Regions from separate parts of the Homo sapiens genome. Here regions 1, 2, 3, 5 and 6 are each linked to region 4. The links are contacts of gene promoters, found by promoter capture Hi-C in blood cells and fetal thymus (Javierre and others, 2016). All regions are on one chromosome and are shown on one strand. The core of a region is centred on a gene start or on the middle of the fragment in contact, and the rest is flanking DNA. Distances in the headings are between cores, read along the strand shown.

Region 1 (4,510 bases), core at 78-2,577, 510 kb before region 4:
ATCTTGCTGCATCCCAGCCCAAGCCCATCAGATGTGGGGGACTTTTGCCCCTCTGACCCTGCTCCTCATGAGGCACAGTCTGCACGAAGTGACAGCCCCGGCACTACCTGAGCCCATGGGACTCAGCTCTTCATCCTCTCAGGGCCTCTTTTAGTCTAGGTGCCCAGGGCACTGAGAGGGACCTGGAGTGACAGGAACACTTGACTCATGGATCAGAGGTGGAGCAGCAGCTCAGGGTGGCTGTGTGCCCTCCCTGGGGGTCATTCCCTCTCTCTTGTCCTAGGAGCTTGGGGTGCCCATGCTTGAGGCAGGAGGCTGTGTGCTCCTGGGAGCTGGCCATGGTGCCATCTTCCAGGGCCATTTCTCATGCCTCCCAGTTTCCAGTCCCTCCTGACTCCCCTCCTTCTGGGTCCTCCGCGGCACAATGATATATTTCATATTTCTATGGAAGGGGTGTCATGTCTCAGCCCCCACACTGGCACACACACAAAAATGTATATGTGCATATACATATATATATATATATATTTTTTTTTTGCCAAGTAAGTCAGCTTGGACTCAAATGTCAGTTTCTTTGAACAGATTTGTCAATGACCTCAAATTAAACTCTCCCATTTGAGGAATGGCAGGTGCTGCCCTTAATATATCTTGCAGGCCTGGGAGTGACAGGTGTGGGGCCTGCTCACCTCGGATCAACCCTCTGGGCCTTGATGATCTCATCTGTTCAATGAGCATCACAAACATCCTTCCACCTCAGACACCCTGAGATTGTAAAATGAGGTGAAAACTTGCTGAGCAAGGGAAATGATCCGTTAGCAAGGACATGGGCATCCTCTCCCAAGCTCTTAGCTCTTGTCAAGGTTCCCAAGAGCGCACCTCTATAAAAATTCTAGATCTGAAGGAGTTCAACTCATTAGCTAGGAAAAACACCTTCTTGCTCACTCTTGTCAGACTTTAGAATGTCAGCATATGAACAAGCTGGAATTTATATTCATAGTGTTGGCCGCTGTTTGGCACTTGCTTGGATTTTGAGATATGAATTATACTGTGAGTGTGTCCTGCTCTAGGGCTTAGGTTATTTATTATTTGAGGTTAATGTATGTGGAGGATTGGATGTGGACCAGGCGAGTCTGGCCAGGGACAGATTACAGGGCCCTGGGTTATTTTCTCTTGTTCTTTACCCATTCATGTTGATGCCAATTATTTTGAAAATGAACAATGGTCCATAAATATGAGAGCAAAGCTTGGGTGCATTGCCCTGAGCCTTGCTGTCCTCCCTGGCACTGGTTTGTGCTTCCTCTTCTGGGGTGCACAGGAGAGGCAGATTGGGGCAAGAGAGATTGGCAGTATGATAGCACTGGGACTGACCCTCAGAATCCCTAGTCTGAGAGTGACATATTACCAAGCTTTCTAGACAGGCTAGTAGCTCCTGTCACCTCTGTTTCTAAGGAAAGAAACATAGAGACAGTTACAAATTTGTTGAGATTAACTTTGGCAATGCCTTACATTGCCCTTAAAGTATAGGGTACACAGGCTGGTGTACAGTACAGAAACAGTGCATAGTCCAGAAATAGCACACCACAAATGAACGCTTTAGACCAACATAGGCGTGAGATGGATGCGTGTGGGATGCAATCTGACAATACGCATAGAATAGAGCAAAAGGCCAGTCCACATGCATTAGGATGGCTGCTACCAGAAGAATGGGAAAGGCAAGAGTGGGCGAGGACGTTTAGAAACTGGAGCCCTGTGCATTGCTGGTGGGAATGGAAAATTGCACATCCATTGTGGAAAACAGCATGACAGTTATTCAAAAGGCAAACACATAAGTGAAATAAGCCTGATGCAGAAACACAAATATTGCACATTCTCACTCATACTTGGGAGCTAAAAACATTGATCTCACGGAGGTAAAGAGTAGAATGACAGACACCAGAGACTGTGGAAGGTAGCAGGGAGGAGAGATGAAGAGGGATCGGTCAATGGTTAAAATGATACAGAGAGGTGGAAGGAATAAGTTCTAGTGTTTCATAGCACAGTAGGGTGACTTTAGTGAACCATAATTTATTATGTATTTCTTTTTTTATTATTATACTTTAAGTTTTAGGGTACATGTGCACAATGTGCAGGTTTGTTACATATGTATACATGTGCCATGTTGGTGTGCAGCACCCATTAACTCATCATTTAGCATTAGGTATATCTCCTAATGCTATCCCTCCCCCCTGCCCCCACCCCACAACAGTCTATTATGTATTTCAAAATAGCGAGCAGAGAAGATCTGTAACATTCCCAACACAAATGTTTGGGGTGATGGATATCCCAGTTACCCAAATTTGGTCGTTACACATTGTACGCATATATCAAAATAGTACATGTACCACATAAATATGTACAACCCTGATGTATCCATACAAATTAAAAATAATAAGTTAAACACTAAATGGAATCACCATGGGATCCAGCAATCCCACTTCCAGGTGAAGTTCACTCAAATAAGTCATACACAAAAGGACAAATGTAGTATGATGTGTTTACACTGATATGAAGCTACCTAGAATAGGCAGATTCTTAGGGACAGAAAGTCAGATAGAGGCTGCAGGGACCTGTGGCAGGGGAGGATGCAGAGTTACCATTTAATTGGGACAGAGTTTCTGCTGGGGAAGATAAGACAGTTCCGGAGGTGGATGATGGTGTGATTGCACAACATTGTAGATGTCCCCAATGCCACTTAAAAATTGTTAGAATTGTAAATTTTATGTTATGTACATTTTATTATAAGAAAAAAAGGAGAGCAAAGGCAGCTGTGGGTGAGTTCATGATGTTTCCCCTGAGTTCCAGCAGGTCCCATCTGTGATGTCCCACAGTCCTGTTGCATGGGTAGGGCTGGTGACGTTGCTGGTCCCATTTTATAGATGACTAAACAAGTCACAGGGACATACCTGTGTGTTCTCATTCACATTCCTGTTCATTGTCTGCCTCCCTACACTGGGGTGTGCATTCTGTCAGGGCAGGGACCTGGTGGGGCCGCTCACCCCAGTGTTCTCAGGGCCTGGCACATATAAGATATTTGCACTGAATGAAGACGTGAATGGCACACTTTGTGTGAGGCTGGCCCCAGAGCTAGTAAGGAGCAGGCCCAGAACACTGCCTGGTCCTCCTGCTCTGGCTCTGTATTCTCCAATGCCTCAGGCTGCCTAGAGGGCGAGCAGGAACCGCATACACATGAAGGCCCTTCCTACCACAAACCAGGGAAAATGGCCTCTGAACAGCTGCACTTGGACAACAGGCCTCTGCCTTGGGGTCACCCCATTTTCTTAGCTTGAACTCCTCCCAGCCTCCCACTCCACCCTACTTAGACCTTGTCCCAGTGCTGGCAGGTGTGCCCACACAGGTGTGGCCTCTTCTCCTGTCTCCTCACCTCTGCACCGAGGCATATTCTGCTTCCCCAGTCCTGGGTCAGAGTGGGAAGCTGACCTCATCCCTCCCAGGGTGGCCAAGAGCCAGTAGCTGGCGGGGCACACTTCATAGGGAGGTAGAGCCTGACCCCAGGCTCAACCCTCACCTGTGCAGCCTTCTCCTCCCACATCCTCCTCCCAGGGGGGCCTGTGCCTGGGGTCACCATTGCATCTCCACTTCTCCCCACCCTGGCACAGTGTGCCTGTCTGGTCTGCGCTGGCCACAGATCCAGAGGCTCCTTGCTGAACCTGCAATTGCTGCCCTGGTGGACCCAGTTACACCCCTGCTTTCTGGGTGTGGTGTGGAAAAGGCCAGGAAGATTGATGAGTGGAAGAGAAGGAAGAGGGAAGGAGAGGCCTGTCTCCCACCACACCCATCCTTTTATGAAGTCAGGCTCTCAGAGTGACAGGGAGTGACAGGCTTGTAAAACTGTAAAAACTACTGGGCACAGACATGATCTGCTAGCTAAGCATGTGAGCATCTGTCCTCCAATCTCTTCTTAGCCTGCACCCTGTATTCAAGTTCATGGGCACCATCAGTTTCTTCTGCTTCAGAACAGCCTAAAGCGGCTCATCTCTTCTCAGTCCTGGTCCTTGCTTTAAGCCTTCTGAGGCTTCTAAATTGGCTGATACCATTGGCATCTGCCTGTATCTCAGGCTTAAAACCTCAGGGCCAGCATTTGCTTCTAGTTTTCCTCTAGTGCTTCCCAGTTCAACAGAAGCCCTGCCCTTTCCACCTCCCTGGCTACCACCCTATCGGCTGCTGGGGCCCCAGGGTCTGCCTATTTATCCTCTGATGCGGTGCCATCGACTGCTGGCTGACTGTCTGCCACACGACAGCCAGGGGGTGGCTCAAAAACACAGAATAACCATGTTATTCCCCAGTGTAAGATTTCAACAGCTTTCTAGTTCCCCTGCAGGTCATGTAGGCAGCCCTCATGAAGCTCTGGGACAATAGTGTGCTGGCAGGTAAGTATTTAACAAAAACTGTCCAGGGAAAAAGCCCTTACCTATAGCATTTGCCAATTTCTGTGGTATAAATACTCCTACTG
Region 2 (4,884 bases), core at 1,404-3,903, 440 kb before region 4:
GAGCTGATGGAGGAGCTGCAGTAAGTTCTCCAGAAGATCTAGCTAAGATCATTGATGAAGGTGGTTACACTAAACAACAGATTTTCAGTGTAGATAAAACAGTCCTCTGTCGAAAGAAGATACCATCTAGGACTTTTGTACGTAGAGAGAAGTCAATGTCTAGCTTTAAAGCTTCAAAGCTTCAAAGCTTCAAATGACAGGCTTGTTAGGGGCTAATGCAGCTGGCGACTTGAAGTTGAAACCAATGCTCGTTTATTATTCCAAAAAAACTTAGAGCCCTTAAGAATTATGCTAAATTTCCTCTTTCTGAAAAAACAAAGCCTTGATGATGGCACATCTGTTTACAGCATGGTTTACTGAATATTTTAAACACATAAGTGAAACCTAGTGCTCAGAAAAAAGATTATTTTCAAAACATTACTGCTCATTGCCAATGCACCTGGTCACCCAAGATGGACATATACAAAGAGATTAATGTTTCATGCCTGCTAACACAACATCCATTCTGCAGCCCATGAATCAAGGAGTAATTTTGACTTTCAAGTCTTATTATTTAAGGAACAAATTTTGTAAGACTATTGTTCCTATAGATAGTGATTCCTCTGATGGATCTGGGTAAAGTAAATTAAAAATCTTCTGGAAATAATTTACCATTCTAGATGCCATTAAGAACATTCATGATTCATGAGAGGAGATCAAAATATCAACATAAACAGGAGTTTGAAAGAAGTTGATTTCAACCCTTGTGGATGACTATGAGAGATTCAAGGCTTCAGTGGAGAATGCACCTACAGATATGGTGGAAACAGCAAAAGAAATAGAATCAGAAGTGGAGCCTGAAGATTAAACTGAATTGCTGCAATCTCATGATAAAACTTGAACAGATGAGGAGTTGCTTCTTACAGGTGAGTAAAGAAAGTGCTTTCTTGAGATGGGATCTATTTCAGGTGAAAGTGCTGTGAACATTGTGAAATGACAACAAAGGATGAATAATTTTATATAAATGTAGATTACAATAAAGTAGTGGGAGTGCTTGAGGGGATTGACTCCAATTTTGAAAGATGTTCTAATGTGGGTAAAATACTATCAAACAGCATCACATGCTACAGGGAAATCTTTCATGAAAGAGTCAATGGATGTAGTAAACCTCATTGTTGTCTTATTTTATGAAATTGCCATGGCCACCCCAACCTTCAGCAACCACTGCCCTGATTAATCAACAGCCGTCAACATGTCAACATCAAGCCTAGACCCTCCACCAGAAAAAGATTACAAGTCTCCGAAGGCTCGGATAATCATTAGTATTTCTCAGCAATGAAGTATTTTTGAATTAGGGTATGTGCACTGCTTTTTTAGACATAATGCTATTGTACACTTCATAGACTATAGTATACTATAAACATAACTGGTATTCAGTGGGAAACAAAAAACATGTGACACACTTGATTGTGATATTTGCAGTATTTGCAGACAGTAGTTTGTCACTGAACCCGCAATGTCTCCAAGGTATGCTTGTATGTAACTAGAGGTTTTTTCAGTGGGATAGACTCAATAAGCCAATTGCATATCCATAATCAATTAAATATTTTCTTTTGTTTGACTTCCCTGTTTGTATTATAGAAATCTCCTTCTTGCATTCCTTTGATGGAACTCACAAACCACTTCCTCTTTGGAGCTGCCTAATTCATGAATCCCTGTTTGCTCAAACTCTTTAAAAATTTTACTGTGCTTTGGTTTACCTTTTTAACCCTGCAATGTGTATCAAAGGGTGCTTAGCACATAGTGAATGGAGATATTAGTAGTTCTTCTCTGATGCTTTCCAAGTTCGGCGAAATCTTGAGGCTCTCCACTCACATTTGCAAATGCTAAACGCTCCTGTGGTGGAGAGAGCAGGGGGGCTGGTGTGTGGACACCCTCTGAGGTGTTCTCACTGGCCACTGGCTCCTTTTGTTGTCTCCCTTTCAATTCAGTACCAGAACATCCCTTCACCGGCAACTTTCGAGTGGGCCTGCTGAAACAATCAAGGCAGTGCCTCCACTTAACTTTGAGAAGGTAGTGTGTGAGAGATTTAGAATAAGCAGCTCTGGAACTACTCCCAGTTTACTCTTATAATTACATACACAAAAAAATCAAAACCTCAGTTTATTTGTCCAAAAATGGGGATAGTATTCTTGTCCTACATGATGAGTGTACTAATCCTTCCAGCCAGCATTCACCTGGGGCTCTGTGCTCCAGGCAGGGTGAGGGTTAGGACTGCATGTAGGTGCTGCCTTCACACCCGGAGCAGGCTGGAGCGAGTGGTGTGAAGCCTCCCAACCCCACGGCTGGGGGCAAAGGCTGTGCTAAGGCACCCGGACATGGAGCTGGCCTGGCCTGAGGACTCAGAGTGGAAAGACAGGAAAGACACTGGCTGCGCTGAAGCGCTGGGACCCGGGAAGGGGCGTCTAGGCAAGAGCGCCTGTGAACAGGATTTGTAAGCTGCTCTTGGTGACTTTTGGACAGACACTCTTACTTGCTTTACTGCTCCCCTTTGTCTTCTGCCCCCTTTCCCTAAAAGTATTTCCAAATGTGTGATGCCCACCAGGTTCCTGGGCAGTGCAGTGGGATGTCTGCTTGGTTTCTGCTGATCCTCACAGAGCCTGGTGACTTCTTCCTCCCAGGTCTGTGGATCAACACTGTCTCCCTGGCCTCTACCCAGCGCGCAGGACCCCTTAGCAGAGCAGGAGAACTCAGGTTGGAACTCATTATTGCATGGTGCTTGTCTTGCCATCTGTCCCCATAATGCCTTAAGTGACAATGACATAGGCATCTGACAATGTATGTGGCCATCACTTTTTATCATTTTAAGATATATGGGCCTTCTTTTTCCAACTCTTTTCCCCCGCCAGACAGCCAGGAGCCCAGAGAAGGGTTGTGTTGTGTCCTTTACTGAGCCCCACAGGCCTGTGTGAGCCAGGGGCTTGGCATGCCTGGGAATAAGAGCGCCAGCCTTTGGCCTTCCCGCAGCCTCTCCTTGGGGCCTTTAGGGTCCCCACAGGCCCTCCCCTCCCCTCTGCATTTTCCAGGATCCAGCCAGCTGCCGGCACACTTTCGTCCTCCTCCGCACACGAGGATCCCCAGGCCCAGCGGTGTTAGCCCAGAGAGGAGCGGCGTTTGGGATGTGATCCACAGCTGATCCCTCGTGGCCCCTCCTCTCCCGAATCCTGAAACATGAGGAGGCCCTTCAGCTGCTGGCTCGGAGTCCGACTATGGGAACTTTCTCCGGTCTACGGGGGCAGCAAGGGTCTCGCCTCAGGGACTTGGTTTATTTATCTAGCTGGACTCCATCCCTTAATATCCTACTTACAGAGGAAGAGGCTTTAGCAGCTAAATGCAGCCCCATCCCCTCCTGTGGAGACTGTGAGCAGAAAAAGAACAGATATTTACAGAGGCCCGAGCCCCCCTTGTTGTTTTCTGCAAGGCTGTCGAGCTGGTGGAGCTTCAGGATCCTGGTCAGGAACCCCGAACCCAGCGCTGGAGGCCCTGAAGATCAGGGCACCCGACCCTCTTCCCAGCCGCCAAAGGCCTGTGTTGGTCTGATTGTGGATTCCAAGCTCTAATTTCCATCCATCCTCCCAATCCGAATTCCCTTTGCAGACATAAACACCATCAGCAATGTAGAGAATGTGTTTCCTCATCTTTGAATATTAACACTCATCTGTTTAATTGAGCTACTTTTTACATACATGTAAGATGTGCTGCAATTGCAAAAGAAACATGTGCTTCGTGTTCTATAAGCCATATCTTCCGCAAGACCTGCCATCAAATGATTGCTCAAACATTTGTTGAATGGGATGAGCAATGGAGGTTCAGACAGGTGCCCTGACCTACCCAGGCTGGAGGGTAGGGAGCTAGAAATTCATACAACCATGCCTTGTTCTACTTGTTTTGTGAAAGAATCATGTGACCAGTGACAAAGAGGCTGGGCAGCTGGGTCAGGCAGCAGGGACAGCGACTGAGCTGGGGGGACTACAGTGCTGTGCTCCTCTGCACCCGTGCTGGGATGTCTGAGGCCAAGCTGACACTGGCCCCCCACAATCCCTTGGGGCTGCTCCTCCTCAGGGAGTGGCTCTCCGGGTTTCCTGCTTGACTCCTGCTGCTCTTGTGTTGAAGGGCCGTCTCTGGGCAGCTCCCCCTGGCCCCTGGCCAGAGAGCCAGGCCCTGTCAGGCACGCACATGGAGGATGAGGGAGGTGCAGTTGTTTTCACAGGTGCAGACTCTAGAGGGACCCCACGTGGACTCTGTGGCTTCTGCCCCGACGCACTCGCGGGAGGACACAGCTCTGCCCGGAAGGGAGAGTGCTGAGCTGGGTCCCTGCTGCTCATCTCTGTGGCATCACCCTGTCAGTCCTTCCCTGTCACACATATGTTCCGCAAGACCTGCCGTCAAATATTTGCTCAGTCAAACATTTGTTGAATGGGATGAGCCATGGAGGTTCAGACAGATGCCGTGACCTGAAGTGTCAAATGAAGGGATGCGTGTGTGATGGCCTTCACCATTTATATTGTTTTAAACTTGCTAAGCACTAGTTAAAATAAAAAAGCCAACACTTTTCTTTACATTTTTACTCTCTCTCTTTCTAACATATAGTATGTAAAAAGAAAAATCTTGGCTATTCCAATAGAGGAAGTGGCTGTGTTTTGTTTTGCTATTTATTTATTTATTAATTTATTTTTTCTCCTCACTGTATTAGTCTGCTTGGGCTGCCATAGCAAAGTACCACGGACTGGGTGGCTTAAACAACAGAAACTCATTTTCTCACGGTCCTGAAGTCCAAGAACAAAGTGTCAGCAGGGTTGGTTTCTGGTGAGGACTCTTCCGAACTTGCAATGGCTGCCTTCTCAC
Region 3 (4,788 bases), core at 1,679-4,178, 490 kb before region 4:
CACAGGGAATAAATGTAGACTTGTTTCATTGCACAAACTGGTGGCATTTCTACCAGTCATAGTGACTGAGAGATGAGCAGTGCTTTGGCACTCTAACTGGGTGACCCTCATCTCCCTTGTGCCACCTGAGCCCACCCAGGGGAACACTCCCATCCAGCTATCCTGGTCAGGGCTGCATTGAAACCACTGGTTCCTCCAGGACCCAAAGCCGCTTTTCTGGATGGAATGTAAATCATTCCTACCTGGGGCCCTGCCAAGCCTTGGCAGGATTCAATGTGACATTCAGTTCCAGATTAATCCAAGTTGGAACAGTTTTGCTGAAGGTTTAGAGACCTTCAATTTATTTATCTTCTGAAACCCTGAAACAGCTTTAATAACATAGCTTTGGATTTCTGCAAGTGAGATGTATGGGCTCAATAAGTATTATTTTTACAACAGATATCCATAATCATTATAGTAACAAAGGCACCTTCCTATATTTCTTTAAAGTTTGTTTCTTTCTTTTAAGCTTTGTCCCAGGAATGGGGTCTGTAATTCAGGGACCTGTAGAAGTTCACAGTGTGAGAGGAATGAAGTGTCCAATCTGCAATCTGAATCTTCCCTATGAAATTTCCACCTGGTGCCCTCCAGCGCAGATTCTCGCACCCACAGTCCTGCCTTACAGGGCAGACCATTTCCTCTCTGACAGTACTACCTGTCTGAATGTTCTGCTTCAAACTGAGTCAAGATATGTGAACCCTGGGTAGAAGAATTATCAGGTCTGGAGGGAGCACAAGCAAACTATCCCATTTTATGGACGTGGAAACCGAGGCCTGAGGGAGAGACGCACCAGGAATCAGGAGATCTGGCTCTGATCAGCTGTACAAATTGAGAATTGTGACCTGACCTTGTCCAACCCAAGTGGCCCAACTCCTAATTCTGTGAGTGACATGTCTCTGTTACTTTGGAATATTGATTGAAGGTATGTGATTACAACTTTTTATTATAATATTCTGAGACAATTTTTTATTATAATCTTATGAGAAGCTAAGGACTGGGTGGATATTTTCCTGGGTTAAAAGTAAAGTTTTTCTTGTTGAAAACTTAGACATTCAGAAAATTTTCAAATTGTTTTTATTATATAGAAACTGTAGATTAGAAACATATTGTATGATGATTGTTCATGATGCTTCAGCGTAATCACTTCAGCAATGTAGCAATGACGCCATTCAGGGGCGTTTTCAAAGTGTGGCCTTGGGCCAGCACCATCGGCATCTCAGGAAACTCTCACAGGGACAGCCCTGCTCTACTGGATCAGAAGCTCTGGGGCTGGGACCCAGCAATCCATGCTTTAACAAGCCCGTCAGGGGCTTCCTATTCATGCTGAAGTCTGAGACCCACTGTTACGGAATATTGTCTTCCTGATCTTGATAGTGTGATGGTAAATTTTATGTGTCAATGTGGCTAGGATATGCTGCCCAGTTGATTGGTCAAACACTAGTCTAGAAGTTGCTGTGAAGGTATTTTTTAAACATTTAAATCAGTAGACTTTGAGAGAAGCAGATTACCCTTCATCATTTGGGTAGGCCTCATCTAATCAGCTGAAGGCATTAAGAGAAATGACCGAGGTCCCATGGGGAGGAAGGAATTCTGCCTCCAGACTGTCCTGGAACTCAAGACTGCAACATCAACTCCTGCCAGCTTTTCCAGCCTGCCAGCTTACTTTGAAAATTGCCAGCCCCCATGATTGTGTGAGCCAATTCCTAATCTCTTCTCATATATATATATATATATATATATATATATATATATATATATATATATGTATGTATACATATACCGTATGGCTCTGTTTTTCTGGAGAACTCTGATAAATACAAACAGCATTAGAATCCAATCTCAGCAATTTCTCATTTAGCCCAAGCTCAGCTGCACAATCCTTCTCAGTGCAAGACTCCAGACAACTGCTTTCAATAGGCAGGAGCCAGCATAGGCATGCCACTTAATAGCTGTCCAGGACTTAAGATGGTAACTGGGGGCCGAAAAATTTGTAGGTATACCTGATTTGGCAGAAACCATTTGATTTTAGGCTATTCTTTAGAAAATTCTTTATTGAAAAATATCTAGATTTCAGTGGGAAGTTAAAAAATGGATGGATCCGAATTTGAATCCCTGCTCTAACTTACTCTCTAAGTGGCCTCAGGCAAGTCACTTAACCCATGTGATCAATATTTTCTTCATCAATGAAGCAAGCCGGGAGTGGTAGCTCATGCCTGCAACCCCAATGCTTTGGGAGGTTGAGGTGGAAAGATGGCTTGAGGCCAGGAGTTCAAGACCAGCCTGGGCAAGATGGTGAAACCCCTATCTCTACAAAAAATACAAAAAAATGTTGGGCATGGTGGCATACACCTGTGGTCCCAGCTACCCAGGAGGCTGAGGTGGGAGGATCGCTTTAGCCCAGGAGGTTGAGGCTGCAGGGAGCTATGATTGCACCACTGCACTCCAGCCTGGGCAACAGAATGAGACCCTGTCTTTAAAAGAAAAAGAAATGAACCAAAGGTACTAAGGCTTTCCTTCTGTGGTTTTAATAAAGCTTCTAGGTAGCACATCTCAGGTGCCAATTTATGTCAGGCTTATTGTAGGCGCTCGGTGAATAATAGTTATTATGGTTTCAGCTTGCCATTCCCCAAACTGGAGGTATGCCAGAAAGATATTACTGTTAACTGGGAGTCCTAGGTAACTGTTCTCTCTGGTGAATCTGTGATTTACTGTAACACAGTAGAGATAACATGTTTAATTGTAATCAATATAGCAACATTATTATTTGAGCAATGCAGTAGGCACTGACTGGGGAGGGATGCATCCCAAGAATGTGGGAGCCATAGCAGCAGCCCTTGGTGATGAGCAGTACTAAGGCTATGATGAAGGCTGTCAAGGATGCACCCACATTTCATCATAGAAAGAAGCCAGGCAAGCCATGGGCTCTGGGAATTTCTATTAAAACAATATAGACTTTTAAGGGGGGATGTGGGGTACACAATCTATTGGAAATGTTATTTGTCCTACATAATTCTAGGGACATGAATGATGTAGGGAAACAATGTTATCAAACAACACGATTTTCTGTTTCAACTGAGAGGAAGAGTGGCCTATTCAAGTAAGCCCAGATTAATGTGTGAACATAGCTAAAAGGATCAGCATTTTCCTGTTACTTGAACACTCACAGTGCATTCAATTATATTTTAATGAACTTGAAAAACTGAATTCAATAGAAACAGTTTTGGAAGACTAAGAGGCAAAGCTTAATGATGAAGATATTAGAAAAGTTATACAAACTAATAACTACTAAGAAAAGTAAGGTGGTATTCAAAGATTTCCCCTCCTCAAATCCCCAAGCCCGGATGGGTTATAGATGAATCTTACTAAATTTTCAGGAACAGTTAATTGCTAATCTTTATAAGTGGTTCCGTAAGATGGGAAGAGAAAGTTGTGTAGCTCATTTTATGAGTCTAATGTAATTCATAACTCAAGTATCAGATAAGAACAATAAATACAAAGAGAAGAAGACTTCAATTGATTAGTATATCAACATTGAAGGAAAAACTAAATCTTGGCTAAGTGAATCAAATCTTTTGTTAAGAATATATTATAATTAAGTAGGATGCCACCTAGGAATACAAGAGTGACTCATCATTGGAAAAATTGTCATAAAATCTTTTGTTAAAAATATTGCCATATTAAAAGACTACTGAAGAAAAATTACATGGCAATTAAAATTAATACAGAAATAGTACTTTATGAAATTCAACAACTTTTATGATTAAAAAAGCATAGAAAACTAGGAACAGGAGGAAATTTCCCTAACTTGGCAAAAGTTATATTCAAAAAAACCTACCACAAACCTAATATTTAATGGAGAAACATAAGACCCATTTCCTTTGAAATTACAAACAAAATAAGGATGTCCAATGCTATGGTCTGAATGTCTGAGGCCTCCCCAAATTCATATATTGAAAATTTCAAGATAATGGTATTAAAAGGTGCGGCCTTTGGAAGATGATTAGGTCATGGGGGCAGAATCCTCAGGAATGGGGTTAGGGCCTGAGACCCCCTCATCCCTTCTACTGTATGAGGACACAGTGAGACTGTGTGCAGAAAGCATGCCCTCACTAGACACCAAATATTTTAGTGTCTTGATGTTGGAATTCCCAGCCTCCAGAACTGTGAACAATAAATTTCTGTTGTTTATAAGCCACCCAATTTAGGGTATTTTTTATAGCAGCCCAAATGGACTAAGACATCCATTCTAACTGTTTCCGTTTGGCACAGTGTTTGAGGTTCTGGCCAATGTTGTAAAAAGAGGAAAAAAAAAAAGCTGGAAGAGTTGGTGTGTGAGAGAGATTCTAGCTGCTCTATTGAGGGCCAGTGACGGGCAGGGGTGAAGGCGGCGGGGATCGGACCAGACACTAAATCACTCCGGCTTGAGCTGGGTCTGTAGCTATATAGGTGGTGAGAAGTGGTTGGATTTTGGGTAAATTTTGAAGATGTGCTTGACAAATTTGTCAAAGGATTTGAAAGTGGGGAACGAGAAAAAGAGAGGGGCCAAGGGTAATTCTGTGTTTTTTTGGTTTTGTTGTGTGTGTGCTATTTTTAACTCGAGCAGTGGGAATTACTAAGATGGGGAGACAGTGGGAAGCATAGTTTGTGGGAATTTTGAAAATGCCAAGTTTGAGATCTCTACTAGATATTTAAGCAACGATGCCAAGAGGTAGAGAGGACTCTAGGGTTCAGGGAGGAGGTCTGAGCTAC
Region 4 (4,526 bases), core at 795-3,294:
GGAAGGGATGGCCCCATGGGTGCCACAGTAGCTTCTGTTCTGGGGCCTCAGGGCGCCTGCGGGAGGGGCAGCGGCCAGGCCTGAATCCCTGGTTCGCCCTCGACTCAGCCCACGCGGGCCTTTCAGGCTTCTGGGACAGATCCTAGGTCCAGCTGCCCACCTGATTTTGTGGCAAAGAAAAAAAGAAGAAGAAGAAGCGAGAGGCGATGGCGTTTGCTTTGGCCAGATTTAAGGGCAAGCGAGGCTGCGCGCGGCTCCCGCAGGGTCGGATCTCCGAGCTCCAGGGCGCCCCTCCACCCGGGTGTAGATTTCCCGCGGACCCCTTCGCCCTCCCGGGTTTCATCAGCTGCGCAGGAATGGAGCTGGCCAGAGCTCTGGGAGCGGGGAGGGAGGCGCCGCCACCAGAGGGCGCCGGAGCCCCAGCGCTGCGGCCGGTGAGCGGCCAGGCTCCCCGGCCCAGCCCAGCAAAGGCCTGGGGACGCCCGACGGCTGCCTTCTTCACTGGACCTCACTGCCTTCAGTTCTTTAAGAGCAGGGCCAAGTCAGTGGGGTTCCCGGCTCCAAGCCCAGTGCCCAGGGTGGGTGGGTGGGTGGGTGGGTGGGTGGATGGATGGATGGATGGATGGATGGAGTGCCGGCCCACAGCCATCTAACGGCCAAAGTGGTTTTGGAAAAAAAATGCACAGAAGACACCTACTCCCACCAGCGGAGTTCCGGAGCCCTCGCAGCCTCCTGTTGACCGCTCCCGCCTAATGCAGCCGCTGACCGCCCACTCCCCGACGGCCAGGACTCCCCAGGGACAGGGACGTGTCCCCAGGGCAGGCCCCTGGATGGACGCGGCGACTGACCCCACTTCGCTGGACGCTGTGCTGGGAAGGACACAGAGAGGTGGCTGGGGCAGCCTGCGGTCACAAAGCGAGGCCCAAAGGGGCGCTCTCCTCACCCCCACGTCTCCTGGGTGCCGACCTGCACCCTCCCTTCGCCACCGGACTGGGGCCATCTGGGATGTCTCGGGGGTATCCGGAGGGCTAAGCACCGCCGAGGGACGGCTCCGTGGGAAGAGTTTTCTGGACCCAGAAGGCAGACGCCAGTAGTACTGTCCTAGGAGTCGGAGGTCGGGGTGGGGGAGTTCTCAGCTCTTTGGGTCGCACGGAGCTTTTCTTGGGTAAGGCAGTAAGTACTTAGGTTTAAAGGACTTACTTACAGCTACCATTTATTGAGTACTGTCTGCTTGTCAGACACGATGCAGAGAATTTCGCGGCGTGGGGCGGGTCTCATTGAATCTCCCGTCCCACTCCGCGGGGTGGGCCTGTGATTAGCTCATTTCACCATTGAGAGGTCGGAAGTACAAAGGCTACATTCGCTTTTACTGAGAGCCGCCGGCGCCTTCTGCTTTGTTTGTACAGGCGAGGAAACTGAGGCTCGGCTGGTGGCGCCGTGGGCTTGGAGTCCGAGCCACGCTGACTGCAAAGACGGGTCTCATTCCCGCAGATCGAGCTCTGCCGGCGGCTGCGCCGCAAGCCGGGCAGGTGGCGAGCTTGAGCCCCCACGCACAGAAAGCAGGACCCCCTCGGCTGCCTTGGGCCGCCACCGCCAGCAGGCCCTCCGCCCGGGACTAACTTGTTTGCTTTTCATTGGTTCTCATTCAGTTCCCGCCATCGAAAGGCCCCGTCCCGCAGCTTTCCACGCGCGCCCCACTTTACGCCTAAGGTCCTCAGTCTCTCCAGTGGGGCCCTGTCACAGGGACAATAAGCGGCCCTCCAGCCGGCGTCGCTCAGGCTGCGGACCTCACTGCAGACCGGGCCAGCGGTGCGGGGCCCAGCGGAGCCTGAGAAGGTCAAAGGCCGGAGCGCACTGCGCCTCGGGAGCACAGAGGGAGCGGAGGAGGGGCGAAGGGGATGGGTGGGGGGTGCCGCCGAGGGAGTCGCGCGTCAGAGACCCCGGCCACGGCCAGCACTCGGCTCCGGGCCCGCCCCTCACCGCGCGCCCCGCCCCGCCCCGCCTGGCTCTCCCCTCTAAAGCGCCCGGCGCGCGCCTCCCACCGCCGCACTTTCACTCTCCGTCAGCCGCATTGCCCGCTCGGCGTCCGGCCCCCGACCCGCGCTCGTCCGCCCGCCCGCCCGCCCGCCCGCGCCATGAACGCCAAGGTCGTGGTCGTGCTGGTCCTCGTGCTGACCGCGCTCTGCCTCAGCGACGGTAAGTGCGCTCGGCGGGGAGGCCCTGGCGAGGCTCTGGGCTTCGGCTCCCGCCCGGCGCAGAGCCGCGGCTCCTCTGCCTGCGCCCGCAGTTTGCGCCGCCCGACACAGTGGGGGTGGAGGCAGCTCGCTTAGCTGGGCGCTCTGGTGCGGTGTCGCGTTCAAAGCCCTACTTTTGCGCCGAGGGTTTGTGACCTGCAGAGAGCGACCGCCTGACCTCAAGCTGGCTGCAGAGCGAGGTCAGCCGGGACAACTGGGCAGGAACGCCCCAAGAGAGCGTTCGGGACTGGCGCGGGAAGGCGCGAGGGTGGGGAGCCGCGGACCCCAGACCCCTGCCTGCCCACCCTCCACCCACTGCCTTCCCGCTGCGGGCTCGGTTTCCACAGGCGAATGGGCTCCGAGGTCCTGCTGCGCACAGTGCTGGAGGTCGGGCGGTGCATGGCGAGAGCGCGCTTTGCAAAGTTCGCCTCATGCCGCGACTTGAGGCTGTGAGGTCCGATGCAGCCGCGCAGCCTCCGCTCCCTGCGAAGCCGATCCTCTCCCCACACCCTCGCGGGGCTCTTGGCCAGGCGCGGGCGGGCTGCGCGGCGCAGCTGTCGGGCTTGTGCCACCCGCCAGGCCGCGCTTCTGCACAGCTCCGCGGTCCGCAGCGACGCGGACCTGGGCGCGCGTCCAGCCGCTGTCTTCCTGTCTCTTCTCGGGTTCACCTGAGAGAGGCCCAGGGACCCTCCGAGCCTCACACGCCCCCTCCCCAGCTCCCCAAACACACCTGCAGACAGGCTCTTTTGTCACCAGCTGGCCAAGCGCTTTGCCCCAGAATGAGAGCTGCAGCAAAGTTCAATCTCCAAGGCCCTGGGCCACTGGGAACCGTGGTGTCCCGTTTCACTGGGAGAGGGCTTTTTTCTTTTCTTTCGCTGAAGAGAAACTCGCTGCGCTGTCACAGGACACCGATGCAAACCAAAATAAACTGTTGCCTCTGAACACACAAAACAAAACCCTGTGGCTCAGGCCGCTGAGCTTCCTTGGCTGTGAAGTTTCCTGCAAAGAGTTGAAGGACACTCTGAGTGCTCTTGCAGCCGCGGGCTGTGCAGGCCCAGCGCGCCTCGAGCCCTTGGCTGGGTTGGTGCAGACGTGGCCCCGGCGTCCTAGCTGGCTTGGACTGTGCGCTGGTGTGAGCAGGACCAGCGCAGCTGAGTCGGGCTGGAGAAGCTGGGCAGCCTGGGGTCGTGGCGGACTGCCTAAGTGTTAAGGACACAGACTGAAGGCAATTGGGAATGTTCGTCGTTGATGAAAAGTCCCTGAGGCTGTGTCTGCACACTGACCCCCCCCCCCCCCCGCAAGTCATGGGGCATGTTTCTAGTTTTTATTGCTGGATATTCTTCTGTTCCTGTAAGGTCTCTGGTTTGGGCAGTTATTGACTGATTGGTGGGATGAGCGCGGAGGTGTCACAGTGCGCCGCTCTGGGAAATGGTGCTGCCCCCTCCCCGGAGGGCTGGAGAGAGGATTGGAATGAGGAACCTCGGTCTTTGAGTTATGGGTGCAACTGACCTGGGGGAAGCACAGAGACGTGGGGTTCATCCCAGACTCCTCCTGGCCTGGGAAGGGTGACATGGCCCTCAGAGTTGCCCCATTGGCAGCCAAGTAACCAGGGCAGGAGCCTGGGCTCCAGGCAGATCTGCTCCTTACACACATCGCCAGAATGTTTTGTTTTGTTTTGTTTTCCCCTCACCTCACAGTGCCTATGTGCCCCCTATCCCCACACTTAGTCCTCAAGCTGCACTACAGAGAGAGCTTGGCCAGGGGTCCTGCCCCTCCCCCATTGGCTGACTTCCGTCAGGCAGCTGGGCCCTTGGGTTTCCCGGGCTTAAACTCAGGGTGGGCCCCCTTCCCAAGCCTGCTTGGAGGGGCCAGCTGGGCTCCTGTCTCTGCATTAGACTGGAGGGCTTTCTGAAAACTCCTGGAGCCAAGCTCACCCGGTCCCAAATCCGGGGTACCATCAGAGCCAGTCAGGACTCTTGCCGGTACACGGATTTACATCCAGAACGGTTGGGAAAGTTAGTCTTACTGACAAAAAGCTGGAGGAAGGAGCACATGAGGTACACACGAGACCATGTTCTTTTGGTAAGCACACCTGGGGGCTCTGTCACTTTAAAAAGACCTGTTGAAATTCGCTGCTTGACAGGCGGGCCTTAGGTCCTGGGAGTAGAAGCAAGAATTGCTTTTGAAGGAAATGGATAATCCCAGGGGGTGGAGGGGGAGAGGAGAGAGAGCCTGTGTGTTGAGCTCTGAATAGGCTCTGATTTCTGGCCTCATCACCACTGCTTGGTTGGG
Region 5 (4,614 bases), core at 2,005-4,504, 420 kb before region 4:
TCACTTAGTATTCTTTTTTTTCTCATTCTGGTACTTTATCTGCTGGAAACTTTCAAATGTATTACTAATGTCCTTCCAAACAGACTCCACATGGGAATTTTCATGATATCTTGGCTATATTTACACAAAGATTAGCTTGCAGGAAACACAAAATAAGTATGCATAAATAAATGAGTGGCTCAGCACACCAGAATTGTGTGTCCAGCTCCATCATTGACTGTTCCATCAAAGAGATTGCCCGAATTCCTCTTTTGAGGAGAATGACAACACTTGACTGCGTATTCAGACTCTTCTGAGGCTCCTCAAATATACACACTCATTGAATAGAGCAAGGCCTGAATCCTGGCTTAAAAATTCACTAATGGAATTTTAAGGCCTTCCTAAGGTAGTAGACTAGAAAGAAATTCAGTTTTCCCCAAATTTACTGCTTCAGTTTATGCCGAGCAATTCGGTGAGTGTATTAAGCCATTTTGAACAGCTGTAAGGAACTATGTGAGACTGGGTAATTGACAAATAAAAGAGGTTTAATTGGCTTATGGTTCTGAAGATAGGAAAAGAAGTGTGGTGCTGGCATCTGCTTCTGGTGAGGCCTCGGAAGCTTCCACTCATTGTGGAAGGTGAAGGGGGAGCAGGCATCTCACATGGTGAGAGTGGGAGCAAGAGAGAGAGGGAAGAGGTGTCACACACTTAAACAACCAGAGTTTGTGAGAATTCACTTATTATCAAGAGGACAGCACCAAGGACTTCATGAGGGATCTGTCCCATGACCCAGAAACCTCCCACTAGGTCCTACCTCCAACATTGGGTATTACATTTCAACTTGAGATTTGAAGGGGACAAACATCCAAACTCTATAACTCCTCCCCTGGCCACTTAAATCTCATGTTCTTCTCACATTGCAAAATACGATCCCCCCGCTGCCAACTCTTCTGTCTTAACTCATTCCAGCATCAAGCTAAAAGTACTAAGTCTCATCTGAAGCTCATCACTAGGCAGTGCCCCAGTGGGGACTTGGCATGTGGACTCCAACCCCACATTTCCCTTCAGCATTGCCCTAGTAGAGGTTCTCTGTGGGGGCTCTGCCCCTGCAGCAGGCCTCTAACTGGGCACCCAGGCTTTCTCATATAGCCTTTAATATCTAGGTAGAAGTTGTCAAGCCTCCTTCATTCTTGCATTATGTGCACCTTCAGGTTTAACACCACATAAGCCACCAAGGCATATGGATTGCAGCCTCTGGAGTGGTGGCCTGAGCTATACCTGGGGACTTTTGAGCTGCAGCTGGAGCTGGAGCAGGCAGGATGCAGGGAGCAGCATCCCAAGCCTGTGGAGGGCAGTGGTGTCCCAGGTCTGGCTCCTGAAACCATTGTTTTCCTCCTAGGCTTCTGGGCCTATAATGGGGAGTACTGCTTTCAAGATCTCTGAAATGCCTTTGAGGTCTTTTCCCCATTGTCTTGGATATTAGCACTTGGCTCTGTTGTAGTCATGCTAATCTCTCTAGCAAGTGGTTTCTCTGCAGCCTGGTTAAATTCTCTGCTACATGGCCAGGCTGCAAATTTTCTAAACTTTTATGCTCTGCTTCCCTCTTAAATATAAATTCCAACTTTAAGTCATTCCTTTGCTCCCTTATCTGATTATAGGTTGTTGGAAGCAGCCAGGTCACTTCTTGAACACTTTGTTGCTTAGAAATTTCTTCTGCCAAATACCCCAAGTCATCACTCTTAAGATCGGGCTTCCCTAGATCCTTAGGACATGAATACAATACCACCAAATTATTTGGGAGAGTGTAACATGGGTGACCTTTGCTCCAGTTCCCAATAAATTCCTCATTTCCATCTGATACCTTATCAGCCTAGCCTTCACTATCCATATTTCTATCACTATTTTGGTCACAACCATTTAATTAGTCTCCAAGAAGTTCCAAACTTTCCCTTATCTTCTTGTCTTCCTCTGAGCCCTCCAAACTCTTCCCACCTCTGTCAGTTATCTAGTTCTAAAGTTGCTTCCACATTTTCAGGTATCTTTATAGCAGTGCCCTACTCCCCAGTACCAATTTTCTGTATTAGGCCATTTTTGCATTGCTGTAAAGAAATACCTGAGGCTGGGCAATTTATAAAGAAAAGAAGAAGTTTAATTGGCTCATAGTTCTACAGAGAGTACAGGAAGTGTGGTGCTGGCATCTGCTTTTGGTGAGGGCCTCAGGAAGCTTACAATCATGGTGGAAGGTGAATGGGGGAGCATGCATGTCACATGGTGACAGTGGGAGCAAGAGGGCAGGGGGACATGCCACACACTTTTAATTGGCTTATGATTCTGAAGATAGTACAAGAAGTGCAGTGCTGACATCTGCTTCTGTTGAGGCCTCAGAAGCTTCCACTCACGGTGGAAACAACCCGGTCTTGTGAGAACTCACTCACTATCATGAGAACAGCACCAAGCCATTAATGAGGGATCTACCCCCATGATCCAAACACCTTCCATTAGGCCCCACCTCCAACACTGGGGATCACATTTCGACATGAGATTTGGAAGCGATGAACATCCAAAGCATATCAGTGAGTGAATATAGATTGAAGAGAAAGAAACATATATTCATTCTAAAGTTACAGAAACAAACTTTTGTTCGCCTTGTTTTCATCGACTTCTTTTGGATTACAGTCTAGTGAGTTACATTTATTTGTTTTAGTTTAAAATACCCATATTCATTTATATGGTAAATACTGGTCTCTACTGAATGTCATTGATATTCCTCTTTTAGTCTATCAAACTTACCTAAGAAATTTGTATGTGTCTTTTCTATAACTTGCATTGAAAGATGTTAACTTAGTGGTCATTAATACATAATTTCCCAAATGTGCAAAAGCTTAGGTAAATGGTTAATATAATGTTTGAGCATTAAGTGTGGGTACATGGATATTCAGGGTGCTCTCCTGGATTTAACCCAGATGTGTTTCTATGGATTTATACTAATAAATCTGCTCTCTGTGAATCTTTAAGTAACCATTTTCAAATCTTCCAGCTCTTGGAGAAGGGAACTATCTTTTATTTTTCTAACTCACTGTTTTTCTAGCTGTGTTTCAGTTGCTGTGTTCTTTCAAGGTTCAGCTGCTTTTGGCTTTTTAGGTTCTTGAATTTTTCGTCTATCTCAGGATTTCCAGATGTTAACTGAGAGTCAGTTGCTTTTGGCTTTTTAGGTTCTTGAATTTTTCATCTATCTCAGGGTTTCCAGATGTTAACTGAGACACTGTATTTCAGGGTGTGCTCTGGGGGACAGGGGTAGGTGTCAAATCTGGACTCTTGTCACTTCTTACTTCCTGCTTTGTAGCTTTCTTAGCTTTATATTTCCTTTGATTTTTCAGGGCTGCTTTTGTTAATGGTTTATCATTTCCTGGTTGGGATTTCTTATTCTGGGGTGATTTCTCTTCATACAGCTTAGAATTGGTGATTGTTTTATTTCTTAAAGCTGGGAGTCTATCAGTCATTGCAAATTTAGGTTCCTAGTTGGGTACTTCACTTGGAACTGCTTGATAAGTTACTGCTTTTGCTGGAAATAGTTCATCCAGAAATGTCTGCCAAGAAGCCTGCCATATTTCTACATTTGGTGACACATCTTACTCATGCAGGATAGGGCTGGTATAATGTCAAAGCTTGTATCCATTATTAACACACAACCTGGGAGCATGTGTGATAGTAAAAGGTGCTCCCATCTAGGTACCTAGCAAAATATGTATGATCAGAGGATACTTGTTTGGAAATAAGTTTGTAGCTTTTAATATCCCACACTCACGTTTGTTCCTCAGATTTCCAAATCCAGTTAGTATTAATATATGGCCACAAGGACCGAATAGGCTGCCTTAGAGCACCAGTTCCAAGGTCAAACACAAGATCACATTTCAAGTTGAAAATCATAGCTTTGGCAGGCATAAAACCATAAATAGCATAAAACTCAGTAGAACCAGAATTCCAAATTATATCATAAATGGGGCTATGTTTTAGTAATTGAACAAATGACAGCACTTTCTCCATTTGTTGCAGTGCAATGCAGCCTTTGTTCCCCATAGCAGGAAGTTCTTCTCTTGTCAACATCTGTTCTCGCTATTACAAGCCAGCAGTGGCTTTTTCATTCCACAGCGTTGTAACCTCATCGGCTTAGAGAAACTGCTGTTGGCTAAAGCTGCATGAGGTCCAAAAAAGTTGGGGTATGAGTATAATACAACAAATGAAAGTACACCCTCACTCCCTGAAACATAGACAGCCCCCTTGTGTGACTGGAGTCCAAGTGATAACCCACAATTAATTTTCTGCAAAGACAATTTACTTGCAATTTTATAAAATCATCGTTTACAAAGAAGTGAACTTTATTGTTAACATTTTGGACACAAAACAGTTTCATCATCTGACCAGATGGATACCAATTTACATTTTTTCCTTGATGAAAGACTTCAAGCACATCCCACTCTCACACGATGGAGTTGCAGGTTGAGTCTCCCAGGAGTGCCATGTGTAGGGAAGTGTAAGGCTGCTGTATTACCAGGACATGGGTTTTTGGTAAGAATTCAGAAAAAAGTGCCTTTGGAGGTGGAAGAGGTGTAGTAAACTCATGTTAGTGACACTGAT
Region 6 (4,696 bases), core at 2,082-4,581, 460 kb before region 4:
ACCCAGTGGGATGGGGCTGCTTCCTTTTCCCCTCTCTGCTGGGAGTACTCAGGTGGCAAACACAGTCCATGTGTCCACCTGTGGGACAGAGGGAGGGGCACAGGCTGGTGTTTTAGTCAGGGTTCTTCAGAGATAGGACTGATATATATATATATATGTATATATATATATGATGTATTTATATATATGTATTTATATATACATATATAATCTATATGCAATAGAGAGAGAGAGAGAGATATGAAGAGTTCATTAGCGGAATTGGCTCATATGATTATAAAGGCTAAGTCACATGGCAGGTTGTCTACAAGCTGGAGGCCCAGGGAAGCTGGCAGCTTGGCTCAGTCCAAGTCTCAAAGCCTCAAAACCTGAGGAGTTGATGGCTCAGCTTGAGGCCAGAGGCTTGAGAACATAGAGTCAGGGTGTAGGGGCAGTTGGGGTGAGTCCCGGAGTCCAAAGCCTGGAGAAACTGGAGTTAAGATGTCCAAGGCAGGAGAAAAAGGGTGTCCCAACTTCAGCAGAGAGTGAATGAGCAAGGAATTCCCTTTCCTCCACCTTTTGTTCCGTCTGGGCCCCCAGCTGATTTGATGGTGCCCACCCACATTGAGGGTGGTTCTTTCCCACTGGGTCCACTGACTCACACACCAATCTCCTCTATAAATAAACTCACAGACACACCTGGGGCAACCCAGTTACTTTCATCAAATGTTAAACTGCCTACTGAAGCATTGAGAATAATTAATGCAGCAACTGAAAATAAATAATGCTTTACCAGCTATCTGGGCATCCCTTAATCCAGTCCAGTTAACACTCAAAATCAACCACTAGGTTGGCCAAAAGGGAGGCCAAAAGCTGGAGTCTAAGCAGCAGCTCGACCTCACCTCAGAGCAGCCTTCACTGTGTGTTGTTCTTCCTGAGCTCTGAGGTCTCAGTTTCCAAATACCAAGAAAAAGCTTGAGCAAGAAGCTTTCTAGTAAGGTCATTGACTAATATGTAATAAAACATTCCCCCAAAACATGGTAGCTGAGATCAATAACAACATTTAATTTGCTTGGGAATCTGCAATGCAGGTAGAGGCGGCTCATCTCTGTCCCACTTGGCACCATCTGGGGCAGCTCCCAGTCACGGGCTGGGGCTGCAGTCATCTGAAGTCTCCCTCATGCCTATGTGTGGCTGTGTGGCTTTTTCAAGGGGTGATCTGGCTTCCTCACAAGATGGTGGCTGGGTTCCCAGTGCCAGCATCCCCATAGAGAGGGAGAGATCTTGATGGAGAGAGTGAGAGGGAGAGGGAGGGGAGGCGGGAGAACATCATATGGAAAGTGCATCATCTATCACCTTTTATGATCTAGTCTTGCAAACTACTTGTGATGCATTCTATTAGTTAGGAGCAAGTCACTAAGACTGGCCCATAGTTGAGAGGGGGAGTAGACTCCACTTTTGGACAGAAGAAGTGTCAAATAATCCTTGTGTACAAGCTTTGATACTACCGCCTTCCAAGCCCCTTCCACCTCTAAGGAGGCCACAGGCCCGGGCCATGGCGTGTGGCAGTGCTGTGAGGCCCTGGCTTCGTGGAGCCCTGCTCTGCCAGTCCTGCTCCCTAAAGTTCACTCACCTCCCAGTTGAACCTGCACACTAGGTTAGAACAGGAAATTGTAACCATCTAAGAAGGGGCAGGATAGTCTAACTTCTCCCTCTCTCTCCCTCTCTGTCTTTTTTGTTGTTGTTTTGAGTAACTTTAGCGTAAAACTAGTCCAGTACATAAAAATCTGAATTGGGGAGTATCTGAAAGTCCCATTTCCAGAAATCTCCAGTCGGCTGGCTCTCCCACTTTTTACTTTTCTTTGAAGACTCCTCCGAGTGGCTCTAGCCCAAACACAAGCCAGTTGTCACAAAGTTCCCTTCTCCAGCCAGTTGGGAGTCACCCTTGGCTGGAAAGCTCTTGCCTGCCTGGGCTCTGGGCCTGGCCCCCTCCATGCTGTCCGTGGGTCTCTCCTTTTTATTAGCTTCTCCATCAAGAAGGCTTTCATTACTTTCCAATGCTCTGAGCTTCTCAAGTTCCCCCTTCCTAGGAAAAGTGCGTTTTTAAAGACAGTTCTTCAGCCCACCACTGCACCCTCAGGATGCATGCCACCTGGGGCTGGAGGCTGGTGTCCAGGGTGAGGGGAGTTAAAGGATCTCCTTGGCCTCTGCTGCTCCAGTGACAAGAGCACATTTTCTGCCCTCCACTTACGTCCTGGGACATCTCCTTCAAATGCTTGTCTTTTGGCTTCTTGATGGCAGTGGCAGAGAATTGGAGGTGGGATAATTTGGGAGGTGGTTGATAGAACAAGAAGGGAAACAGAGTCATCTCTGATTCCTCTCCCTGCCTAGCTCATTTCTGTGGCAGAAGAAGGCACTATGCTTTTCCCTGACACTGGGCCCTTTCATGCCCGAAGGTGGGAACGCCTGGTACAATTTCCTGCCATTTCTTCACACCATTGCTAACTCCCAATGTGTTGGGCATGGACACTGCAGAGAAGCTGATGCCCAGGTGAAGCTGTGAAGCTGGTGAAGCTGTGAGCATCTGGCCAGTGTCGGCTGCCCTTTGTTGGAGGCAGTGCAGCATGGCCTCAGGGCTTGGCATCACACAACTCTGAGGGGCACCTGGGGAGCCAACCTCATAGAACACAAGCTGAATATTGCCCCTTGCAGTTCTACAAAGCAGCTGCTGACCCTCCAGCAAAGGATTAGCCATCAGGAGACATGGATGCAGATTTCAACTCCACCCCTTTCTGGATGCATGACAAGTGACAGGTTATTTCTCATTTCTGGTCTTAAATAAATTTCGCCATCTGCAAAAGAACAATTTTGAACAAAGTTGTTAAATCTTCAGTTCAAATGTTCTATCATCCTAATATTGATGAAAGATTATGAATCCTAAATTAGCTGCAAAGTAAATGAGATGCTCTTATGGTTGTGGTTCTAGGGTATTTCCTGAGCAAGAGACAGAGGGTCAGAGTGGGCCATGCAAACATGTTGCCAGGTATCACGGGCTGCTTGCAAATAGAAGGTAGGAAGCAGCAGTGTGCCAAACCTAAGAGCATTGTGGAGGTGGATCCAGAGGCAGATCCGTTGGGGGGGGGCCCTCTGTTGAGATTTCCCTTCAGTCTCCCCCACCCCCACACACGTCATCTCACTTGGATCTCCCTCTATGCCCCTTCCTTACCAGATTCTCTCTAACTCATGCTTCAAGACTCAGTCTTCCCATCAGCTTCTCCATGCAGATTTCATAGGAGTCCACATCTGGGTCTGGTGCCCTCCACCATATTTCTTCTATACCCTGTGCTTATCACTGTAGAGTGGTTTTAAATCTTCACAGCCAGGCGTGGTGGCTCACACCTGTAATCCCAGCACTTTGGGAGGCTGAGGCAAGTGGATCACCTGAGGTCAGGAGTTCGAGACCAGCCTGGCCAACATGGTGAAACCCCATCTCTACTAAAAATACAAAAATTAGCTGGGTGTGGTGGTGCATGCCTGTAGTCCCAGCTACTCGGGAGGCTGAGGCAGGATAATTGCTTGAACCCAGGAGGCAGAGGTGGGAAAATTTGGGAGGTGAGCCAAGATCGTGCCAACGCACTCCAGCCTGGGCAACAGAGCAAGACTGTCTCAAAAAAAAAAAAAAAAAACTTCACACACACACACACACACACACACACGCACAATAGTCATAGAGCTTTATTTTTATGCAATCGATTATAATCAGTTCTCTGCCCCACTTCTGCCAGGGCTGGCAGAAATCTCCCTCATCTCTACAACTGGGGTTTGTTCCACTCATCCCAAAAGTCTATGAAGGGGAACTTAGTTTGAGGAGGGCATCTGGGAGGACTCTATTCATGGCCGAACTGGCCACCTTTGGTTCACTCCTTGTCCAGTGCTCCACACCTTGGTTCCCCTTTGTCTGGCCTGGCTCCTGGTAAGCAGACAGTGCCAGGATCCCATCCGAGGCTTGCGTGTGGGGCTCTTTGCTGGGACCTGCGGGCAGTCTCCCTGCAGCCAACCCCCAGGGAGCTCCCTCGGAGGTCCTGCCACCCCCCGGAGCAGTGCAGGTGCCTGCTGCTCACACAACCCCATCTAATGTGTCCTTTTTAGTGCTGGGGACTCTCTTTCTCCCTCTTTTGGCTCTTGCCCAGTCCTTTCTCCCCTGCTTTCCCTTTGTCCTCCTCTGTGGGACCCATACACTACTCTTGATGAAACAAAAATTCATATTTTATGAAACCCTCCAGCCACATTATGTGCTATATTAAATTAAGGAGTTATGTTTATATGTATGTTTTCCCAATTAGCAACACACTTGGGGCAGGCAAGAGCTGTGTTGTATTAATCTCTACTATTCCAAAAGCTGAAAAAATGCCAGACACACATGGAAACTTGAGATGTTTTTGTTGAGTTGAATTGAATTAAATATCCCTGTTGTCCAGGGTTATCCAAGATGAGTCTAATTCAAGATTCTTTTTTCTCTTTCTGCCTTTTTTTTGTGGGTCTGGTTGTTTGAAGAAAAATCACAAGAGTTTCTATCTTATGGCCTCTTTGAATCTTTGAGAATTGGCAAAACCCAAAGTCAGGTGAGTGATAACATCTTGTCAGTAGCTGGGAGATAAAGGAATTAGGTTTCAGCCCTTGGAGAAAAGGAGGCGGGGACAGGCCAGAAGAATAGGGT

What was found. Contacts are between HindIII fragments. The CHiCAGO score rates a contact against its expected background, and 5 or more counts as called.
Region 1: a fragment that was not itself captured here is called in contact with the fragment with the promoter of CXCL12 in region 4 in 4 of 17 cell types (M1 macrophages, endothelial precursors, M0 macrophages and 1 more); the score reaches 7.9 in M1 macrophages.
Region 2: a contact is called between a fragment that was not itself captured here and the fragment with the promoter of CXCL12 in region 4, in 3 of 17 cell types (endothelial precursors, M2 macrophages and M0 macrophages). The highest score is 6.6, in endothelial precursors.
Region 3: a fragment that was not itself captured here is called in contact with the fragment with the promoter of CXCL12 in region 4 in 8 of 17 cell types (M0 macrophages, endothelial precursors, megakaryocytes and 5 more); the score reaches 13.5 in M0 macrophages.
Region 5: a fragment that was not itself captured here is called in contact with the fragment with the promoter of CXCL12 in region 4 in 4 of 17 cell types (M0 macrophages, M2 macrophages, M1 macrophages and 1 more); the score reaches 10.1 in M0 macrophages.
Region 6: a fragment that was not itself captured here is called in contact with the fragment with the promoter of CXCL12 in region 4 in 7 of 17 cell types (M0 macrophages, endothelial precursors, M1 macrophages and 4 more); the score reaches 11.8 in M0 macrophages.

The regions. Positions count from the first base shown.
Region 1 is chr10:44,890,085-44,894,594 of GRCh38, reverse strand. The region is part of intron 2 of TMEM72-AS1 (TMEM72 antisense RNA 1); the gene reads left to right. Among named protein-coding and RNA genes, the nearest start is that of TMEM72, 19 kb to the left of the region's middle. The HindIII fragment of the contact is 163 bases long and covers 1,246-1,408 here.
Region 2 is chr10:44,827,021-44,831,904 of GRCh38, reverse strand. TMEM72-AS1 (TMEM72 antisense RNA 1) reads left to right here. Exons shown (of 8, transcript NR_033842.1): 4 at 660-905. Among named protein-coding and RNA genes, the nearest start is that of TMEM72, 82 kb to the left of the region's middle. RefSeq lists an enhancer at 1,855-2,718. The HindIII fragment of the contact is 4,928 bases long and covers 190-4,884 here.
Region 3 is chr10:44,869,808-44,874,595 of GRCh38, reverse strand. All of the region lies in intron 2 of TMEM72-AS1 (TMEM72 antisense RNA 1), which reads left to right. Among named protein-coding and RNA genes, the nearest start is that of TMEM72, 39 kb to the left of the region's middle. The HindIII fragment of the contact is 708 bases long and covers 2,575-3,282 here.
Region 4 is chr10:44,382,615-44,387,140 of GRCh38, reverse strand. It overlaps CXCL12 (C-X-C motif chemokine ligand 12), which reads left to right and starts at 2,044. Exons shown (of 3, transcript NM_199168.4): 1 at 2,044-2,196. The coding sequence starts at 2,136. RefSeq lists a silencer at 306-515 and enhancers at 2,409-3,100, 3,101-3,794, 3,795-4,488. The HindIII fragment of the contact is 14,357 bases long and covers 1-4,526 here.
Region 5 is chr10:44,806,599-44,811,212 of GRCh38, reverse strand. It overlaps TMEM72-AS1 (TMEM72 antisense RNA 1), which reads left to right. Exons shown (of 8, transcript NR_033842.1): 8 at 1-189. It also overlaps the pseudogene EIF2AP4. Among named protein-coding and RNA genes, the nearest start is that of TMEM72, 100 kb to the left of the region's middle. RefSeq lists an enhancer at 1,220-1,882. The HindIII fragment of the contact is 784 bases long and covers 2,863-3,646 here.
Region 6 is chr10:44,845,245-44,849,940 of GRCh38, reverse strand. All of the region lies in intron 2 of TMEM72-AS1 (TMEM72 antisense RNA 1), which reads left to right. Among named protein-coding and RNA genes, the nearest start is that of TMEM72, 64 kb to the left of the region's middle. The HindIII fragment of the contact is 3,708 bases long and covers 1,478-4,696 here.